2 separate regions of the Homo sapiens genome follow, and region 2 is linked to region 1. Evidence: promoter capture Hi-C in 16 types of primary human blood cells and fetal thymus (Javierre and others, 2016). All regions are on one chromosome and are shown on one strand. Each heading gives the region's core, a stretch centred on a gene start or on the middle of the fragment in contact. The rest is flanking DNA. Distances are from core to core; before and after follow the strand shown. Region 1 holds the start of MUC4 (mucin 4, cell surface associated). Region 2 holds the start of APOD (apolipoprotein D).

The links. The method cuts DNA at HindIII sites, captures the fragments that hold promoters and counts their contacts. A CHiCAGO score of 5 or more calls a contact.
Region 2: a fragment that was not itself captured here is called in contact with the fragment with the promoter of MUC4 in region 1 in 1 of 17 cell types (M0 macrophages); the score reaches 5.4 in M0 macrophages.

Annotation. Positions count from the first base shown.
Region 1 is chr3:195,809,759-195,813,641 of GRCh38, forward strand. It overlaps MUC4 (mucin 4, cell surface associated), which reads right to left and starts at 2,171. Exons shown (of 25, transcript NM_018406.7): 1 at 1,978-2,171. The coding sequence starts at 2,059. RefSeq lists an enhancer at 1-431. The HindIII fragment of the contact is 16,144 bases long and covers 1-3,883 here.
Region 2 is chr3:195,581,416-195,585,298 of GRCh38, forward strand. APOD (apolipoprotein D) reads right to left here and starts at 2,525. Exons shown (of 5, transcript NM_001647.4): 1 at 2,463-2,525. RefSeq lists an enhancer at 1,976-2,145. The HindIII fragment of the contact is 796 bases long and covers 1,645-2,440 here.

The DNA.
Region 1 (3,883 bases), core at 921-3,420:
CCCAGCACATTTGGGCTCAGCTTTAAATCACAGATTTGGAAACTCAAGAACTTGGGCGTCAGGAGGTCCAACCGTTCACCACTGCTTTTTACACAGGGGACCGGGGCCCTGGGGAGACACGGGGCAGGGCCTGGTCACAGGGGCCAGAACAGTTCACGGCAAAGACTTGGCCCTGGGGCTCCTAAATCCAAGCTGCCTCCCCGGCGCCCCAAGCCCCAGCCTCGCTCTGGGAGTCATGATTCCCGTGGAGACTCCTTCAACCACATCTGCAGGGCAGGGCCGTGTGGCGGCTCCTTCCGGCCTCCACGTCCTCACGGTGGGATGAGCACTGGAGCGGGGTTGTGTGGCCAGGGTGGGGTGGGGGTGCTGGAGGGTGGGGAGGTGTAGGGAGGTGGTGGCAGTTTCCTTTGCCCTCAGCCTAGTCCTGAAACATCCCGAGGTGGAAGGGTCCGCTTCACCAGCATGGCTTCTCTTGCAGCCTTTAAACGGCACTCGCCTTCTGACTCACTCCCAGGAAGCTCCTCAAATATGCGCCCAAGAAATATTTTCCCTCGGCGACTGTTCTTAGCCTGCTGAGAGGCAGGGCAGGAGCTGAGACTCTAACCCCAGCTTGAACTCTGGACCCCAGACTCTCCCCCAAAGACTCAGACACCCAGAAACACAGAATAAAACTTGGTCCTGAAGCCAGAGGGACAGCCTGGAAAGTGTGGGGAAGAGGACGGGGGCCCCCGAGGGAACATCTCCCACAGGCCTGGCATCCCTCCCCTCCCAGCTCTGTACACGGAGGAGCCCAAGGCCAATGCCGGGGCTACGAGCCCCAGGCAAGGCCGTGACCCAAATGGAGGCTTTTAAACCCGAGCTCAGAGGTAAGAAGCCCACGGCCAGCACCTCCCGGCCCTCTGCGCCCTGGCCGCCTCCTCCGCACCACCCTCCCGGCCGGCCTGCCCCTCTCCTCCTTGTCGCTTCCCTTGCTTGCTGCTGTCTCCCGATCTTCTCCTCTCTCCATTCCCAGGGTCCTCAGTTTGTCTGCGTCTCACCTGTCTCGTCCTCTCACCCTGCAGCTTTACATGAGTTTTCTTCCGTCTCCATCACCCAGCTTTCCTGGCATCCCCTCTACCCCCAGCTCTGTACACAAGGGTGTACATCTTTCTCCTTGACTCTGTTCCTCTTGCTCTGGCTCTGCCTGTCTTTCTCTCTGCGAGTAAGCCTGGGCTCTCACCATGGATCCTTCCAGACATCGCCGGGCTGCTCTCTGGCCCTCTGTTCTCTTTTCTCTCTCTTTCGAGCATTCTCCCTCTGTCTTTCCCCTCAGATCTTGTCCCGTATCTGCCAGTTCATGCCTCCTCTTCCCCACTTTTCTCCTCTTCTTATTTTTTATTTTATTTTATATTTATTTATTTATTTATTTATTTATTTATTTATTTATTTATTTTGAGACAGAGTCTCGCTCTCTCTCCCAGGCTGGAGTGCAGTGGCGCGATCTTGGCTCACTGCAACCTCCACCTCCCAGGTTCAAGTGATTCTCCTGCCTCAGACTCCTGAGTAGCTGGAATTACAGGTGGGGCCCACCACGACCGGCTAATTTTTGTATATTTAGTAGAGACGGGGTTTCACCATGTCGGCCAGGCTGGTCTCGAACTCCTGACCTCAGGTGATCTCCTGCCTTGGCCTCCGAAAGTGCTGGGATTACAGGCATGAGCCACCGCGCACGGCCTCCACTCTTCTTTCTCTCTCCCTCTTCTCTTCCTCTTCTTTCCCTCTCTGGGTCTCTCTCCACCTTCCCCCCATGTTGTCCCATTCATCTCTTTCTCCTTTCCCTCTCCCTCTTTTTCTCTCCCTTCTCTTCCTCTTCGCTGTCTCCCTTTCCCCTATTCTCTCTCTCTCTCTCTCTGTCTCCCCGGACCTCTTTCTCTGACAGCTCCCACCTCCCCCAAGTGCTCCCCGCAGCCAGCCTCATCTGCTGTCTCCATCACTTACCTGGGACCACATGCGGAAGGAGGCAGAGACACAGGCAGCTCAGGGACACCCAGGGGACCCTCCTCCAGCGTGCCCCCTTCATGGCTGCGGCAAAAGTCCCCCTGGCTCCCTGGGGAAGCTCCACGGCCCAGCAGCTGCAGTGTGAGGAGCAGACGTGAGCCCGTCCCCTCAGGCGGCTGGCCCGAACCAAGTGCGTTTCTCCGAAGGGGCCAGGGAACCTGGGAAGAGGACAAAAGAGGGCGGGGCCCCACGCTAATCACCCTTTTCTCTCCTCAGCCCCACCCCACTACCCCACCAGGAAAGAAAACACCGATACACCCGTTGCTCTGCTTCTCATCAGCCTGAGCTGAGTGGCGGGAGGGATGGGAGGAGACATGGGGGAATGGGAACAGGTCACACTGGAAATGGGTGGGCCACCCTCCTAGCCGGGTTCCTGGGTCCTCTCCTCCCTCCCCAGGGGCTGCCCCTGTCCCACCAGAGCTTTGGGCTGCTGGGAAGAATGGGGAAGAAAGGGCCCCAGAGGGAGCGACCTTGGGGCTGTATGAATGGGGGAAAGAGAGTGAGACTTAAGCAGACCCCAAGGAATTGGGAAGCGGGGAACCATGTGGGTGAGGGGCAGGAACAGAAATGCACTGTATGCCGTCTTTTGGAAAGGGGTGGTGTGCTTGGAATATCTGCTCAGTGCAGGCGCGTGGCAGACCCCAGACGCGTGGCAGACCCCAGACGCGTGGCAGACCCCAGACGCGTGGCAGAACCTCAGTGCAGATGCGTGGCAGACCCCAGACGCACGGCAGATCCCAGACACATGGCAGACCCCAGACCCATGGCAGACTCCAGACGCGTGGCAGACCCCAGACGCGTGGCAGACTCCAGACGCATGGCAGAACCTCAGTGCAGACTCGTGGCAGAACCTCAGTGCAGACGCATGGCAGACCCCAGATGCGTGGCAGACCCTCACCAGATGGTGGACTTCTTCTTTCCAGGGCAGGGAGCTGGAGCCAGGGTGCAGGGAGCCAGGGACAGTCTGGGAGACTGGCCTGAGGGAGCTGGCATGGGCAGTGGGTTGAAGGCAGAACCTCGGTAGGAGGAAGCGACTGTAACCTGTGAGGAGGTGGAGCTGCTCCTGGAGACCTGGGGGCTCTGCTCACCCCAGTTCCACCTCTTGGAACTCACAGGCACAAGCGAGGAGGGAAAGGGACCCCAAGTAGGGTTGTAAAGACGAAGAGGGCAGTTGGTGTAGCTCTCTGCAAAGGAAAACGGGGATACCTCCGCTCCCCTCTTTGCCACAGTGTGAATCTCTGCTTCTGATTCCTCAAGACTTGATTCCCGAATGTGGGGTGTCTGTGGGGTGACTCGTCCCAGAGCAGGGACCTTCGATGCTCAGACACTGTGGGGCCCAGGACAAGGACTCAGGGTTTCTGCATTCCCAAGCAGAGCCAGCCTTGTCCAGCAAGGAGTAGGCAACCGACGCTGTGGCGCTGTCTCCGAGGGTCACGGAGGCCCTGTGACCACTTGCTTCTAGAAGCTGAAAGTCTGTTCATGGCCCCAGGCCAAAGCCTGGGCCACGCCATAATAATGCGGATACCGTGGGGAAGTGGCGTGGTCCCCCAACAGTCCCTCCAGCTCTGGGTGGACGAGCTGACCCTGTTCTTTCCTGGAGGTAAGAAAATCATAAAGGTAAAGAGTCATGTGGAGCATCCTGTGGGCGCCTGGACGGGGCAGCAGGAGGGACCTACTGCAGGGAATTCGCAGACACCAAGGCCCAGCTTGGCCTTCGTGATCATTTTGCACTTTTTTTTTTTTTTGAGATGGAGTCTTGCTCTGTCGCCCAGGCTGGAGTGCAGTGGCACCATCTCAGCTCACTGCAAGCTCCGCCTCCCGGGTTCACGCCATTCCCCTGCCTCAG
Region 2 (3,883 bases), core at 793-3,292, 230 kb before region 1:
CTACTTAGTAGGCCCAAGCTGAAAGCCTGGCCCAGAGGATCAAACCTCAAAGACTGGCCACACACTATGCACATTCCACAAGGTCCCCACACTGGATAGGACCTTAGAGGTCATCTTTCTAGCTCTACTTCCAAGGTGTACAGATGGGGAAGCTGGGGCCTGGAAGGGGCAGAGAGCTGGGACTCGAGCTCCATCTCCCCCTCTCCTGTCTGCAGCACCCCGAATCTGCTTCTTCTGTGCACCGCCATAGGGCCTTTCAATAACCCCCCACCTCTGTGACCTGATGAGTCTCACCACCACATGACACTGCAACAAAAGTCAGTTCTACATCTTACTCTGACAAAATGCTCTCTTGTGAGCTGAAACAGATTCTTTACCTCAGTAGGAGGATTTCAGAACAACCCCTTTGACTGACCCTCTTCCAAAGATGCCTCTTGGTTACATTAGTTTTATTCCTGTGGTTAAAACTCCTTGTGATGCCAGGTGCGGTGGCTCAAGCCTGTAATCCCATGGGAGGCCGAGGCAGGTGGAGCACCTGAGGTTGGGAGTTCAAGACCAGCCTGACCAACATGGAGAAACCCTATCTCTACTAAAAATAAAAAAATTAGCTGGGCATGGTGGTGCATGCCTGTAATCCCATGCTGCCTGTAATTACATGCATGCCTGTAATCGGGAGGCTGAGGCAGGAGAATTGCTTGAACCCGGGAGGTGGAGGTTGTGGTGAGCTGAGATTGCATCATTGCACTCCAGCCTGGGCAACAAGAGCAAAACTCCGTCTCAAAACAAGCAAACAAACAACAACAACAAAAAAACTCCTTGTGAGAGAAAGGGCGGACAGCATCCATTATAGTTTTCAATGTCCTTTCATTCTAATTTACTCATTACTTATTGAGCATGTTATTAATGTGTACTTAAGACTTTGGGTAACATATGGATTATATACGACATATATTTTTGCATCTTCTTCTGATATCAATAGGAAGATTGTTCTTATGAGGAGTTTAAATACTTTACAAAATAAGTATAATTTAAATATTATTTTTGGCCGGGCATGATGGCTAATGCCTGTAATCCCAACACTTTGGGAGGCCGAGGTGGGCAGATCACTTGAGGTTAGGAGTTTGAGACCAGCCTGGCCAACATGGCGAAACCCCGTCTCTACTAAAAATACAAAAAATTAGCCAGGTGTGGTGGCAAGTACCTGTAATCACAGCTACTCGGGAGGCTGATGCAGGATAATTGCTTGAACATGGGAGGCAGAGGTTGCAGTAAGCCAAGATCACACCATTGCACTCTAGCTTGGGCAACAGAGCAAAAACTCCATCTCAAAAAAACAAAACAAAAACAAACAAACAAAAAATACAAAAATTAGCTGGGCATGGTGGTGCAGTCCTGTAATCCCAGCTACTTGGGAGGCTGAGGCACAAGAATGGCTTGAACCTGGGAGGCGGAGGCTGTAGTGAGCCGAGATCGCGCCACTGCACTCCAGCCTGGGTGACAGAGTGAGACTCCGTCTCAAAAAAAAAAAAAAAGAAATATGATTTTTAACAGAATATGAGGTAATTAAAAAGCAATCCAACTAAGGTGACAGTGCATCCACCTTGGGCCTGGCACTAGCTGGAAATCACTGCTCCACTTGCATTAAGCTTACCCGTGGAGAAGCCCTGGTCCCAGGATTTTAAGGGTGCTATGCGCTCAGTCTCCACAGCACCTCCTCTGGAGGCGACCTCTGCTGACACTCTCTTCATACCAACGAGGTGAATTTGCCCGGGTTACTTCCTGGTAAACTACGAAGCCACAGTGTAAGCCTAGGCCTGGGGACAGGCTAGAATGTAAGCCTAGGTCTCCCACAAGCCCGCGCTCTTAGTGCCTGGGGACACAGCCCCTGACCTCAAAGATCTGCAGAACGTGAAGGACTAGATTTTGAAATTTCACCTCATAAAATAAAATAGGTTCCAATAAGTCATTAGGTCTCAAAGACTCATTTAGCCATTAAATATAACAAGACACGTATCTCCCAAACACAATATTTTATGCCATATTGTCAAATGCATTTTCTAGTCACACCATTAATTCCAGTTTCCAGATTATTTTACTGCGATGCACCGTTGGACAGCTTGCTGAGAATTCACCTAGGACGGTGTTTGTGCATGGAAACACCTCGTTGTCCAGTTTGGAGGGGTAAGCAAAAGACGCTGGGATGAGTTCACACTGGGTTTGGTTTTATCTTAGGCATGTTGCTAGTGTATCTGAACCTCAGCTTTATCACTGGAAAAATGGCTCTGATGATACCTACCTTGTACATTTGTTTGAGGAAAAATGAGAACAAGTCTAAAGCTACCGGCACAAGCTCTCAATCAGTGGTAGTTATATGTAGCTGAAATGGGGCAATGGAGAGTCTAGACTGTTTCTATTTTAGACATTATTATCATAAATGAAAAGCTTAAAACTACAGTACATACCTTTTCTTTCAAGATGAAGGCAGTTTCCAGATGCAGAATCAGCCGATTTGAGATGCCTGTCTTGGTGACTGGCCTCTCCCAAGCTATTTTATAAGCTTCTTCAGGTCTCTGATGTTTACTTTTCATGCATGCCACGCCCGCCGCCCCCATCCAGTCAGGAGGGTTGGCCTAAAAGCTTAGTCTGTATCGAAACACAAAGATGGGATGTTGTGTCCATCCTCCTCCCCCGATTTCCTTCACAGCTGCTCCCTGAAGAAGAAATGAGATATTGTTTTCGCGCGCGCGTGTGTGTGTGTGTGTGTGTGTGTGGGTATGTGTGCGAGAGAGAGAGAGAGTATGTGTGAGAGAAAGATAAAGTATATTTTCATCCAAAACATTTTTTTTTTTGCTATGTGGATTTTCTAATTTAATTTTTTTGGTCAGAATGCACTTTTAAGTTCCAGCAGGACGTGTTGCAACATGTTTTCAAACATCTGGTATTTATTTTTCATTTTTGTGTAAATGAAAAATCAACAAGCTCATTTCCTGAAGTGGAACATGGAGTTCCTGACTCCACTAATGGGAGTCAGGTAATGGCGCGAGGGTTATGAGTCAAAGCTGGCTTTCTCCAGGATCCTGGGCAGCCCCCTAACTTCTCTGAGCCACAGTCTCCTCGTTGTAAGTAGGGGCTGTCATTCTTTCTCCACCAGAGCCAGACGTGTAGGGGAGATACCAGTTCTCTAACAACTGGGGCTAAAAGTTGAGAATGCAGAAGACATCTTCTGTCGCTCTGTTCTCTGTCCCTTTTATGACCCTTGCAGCGAGAAGTTCAAGACAGTCTGTCACTGCTTGGGGGTGGGGGCCGGGGTGGTGGGGAGTGTGGACTTAAACCCAGGGGTGCTTTTGGTCCAGCCTTATCTCTCCTGGTGGAATGAACAACTTTGACTCTTGTGAGTGAGATTCTATGTCTTTGTGATAGGCAGGAGGTATGTTTAGAGACATTTAGATAAGGCAGTGCCTTCGTAGTAGACTTAGACTCCTAAATGAAATTCATTCTAAAATATGTAAGCAACAGAGATACATTTACAGCACTGAGTCTATAAACATGAAAACAACAACACAGATCCGTAACATCCCAAACGTTGTGAGCGCTTTCTTTAAGATGTTCTTTGCCTTTTCAGAAACATAAGAAATTCCTACTACCACCCAGGGCCTGCCTCTCGCTGACCTCCTGTGCTGCCCTCCCCTAAGAGCTCTGTGTAGCTCCCTTCCCCACTCCAGGTCCCTGATCAGATGACACTTTTCCCTAAAAAGCTTCCTGACCTTTCAAAAATAGCACTCTTGTCACTGTCCCTTTCCCTGCTTCATTATATCTTTACCTGAAATTCTCTCCTTTATTTATACATTATCCTGCTTAGTATGTTTTCCCCAGGAGGATAGGA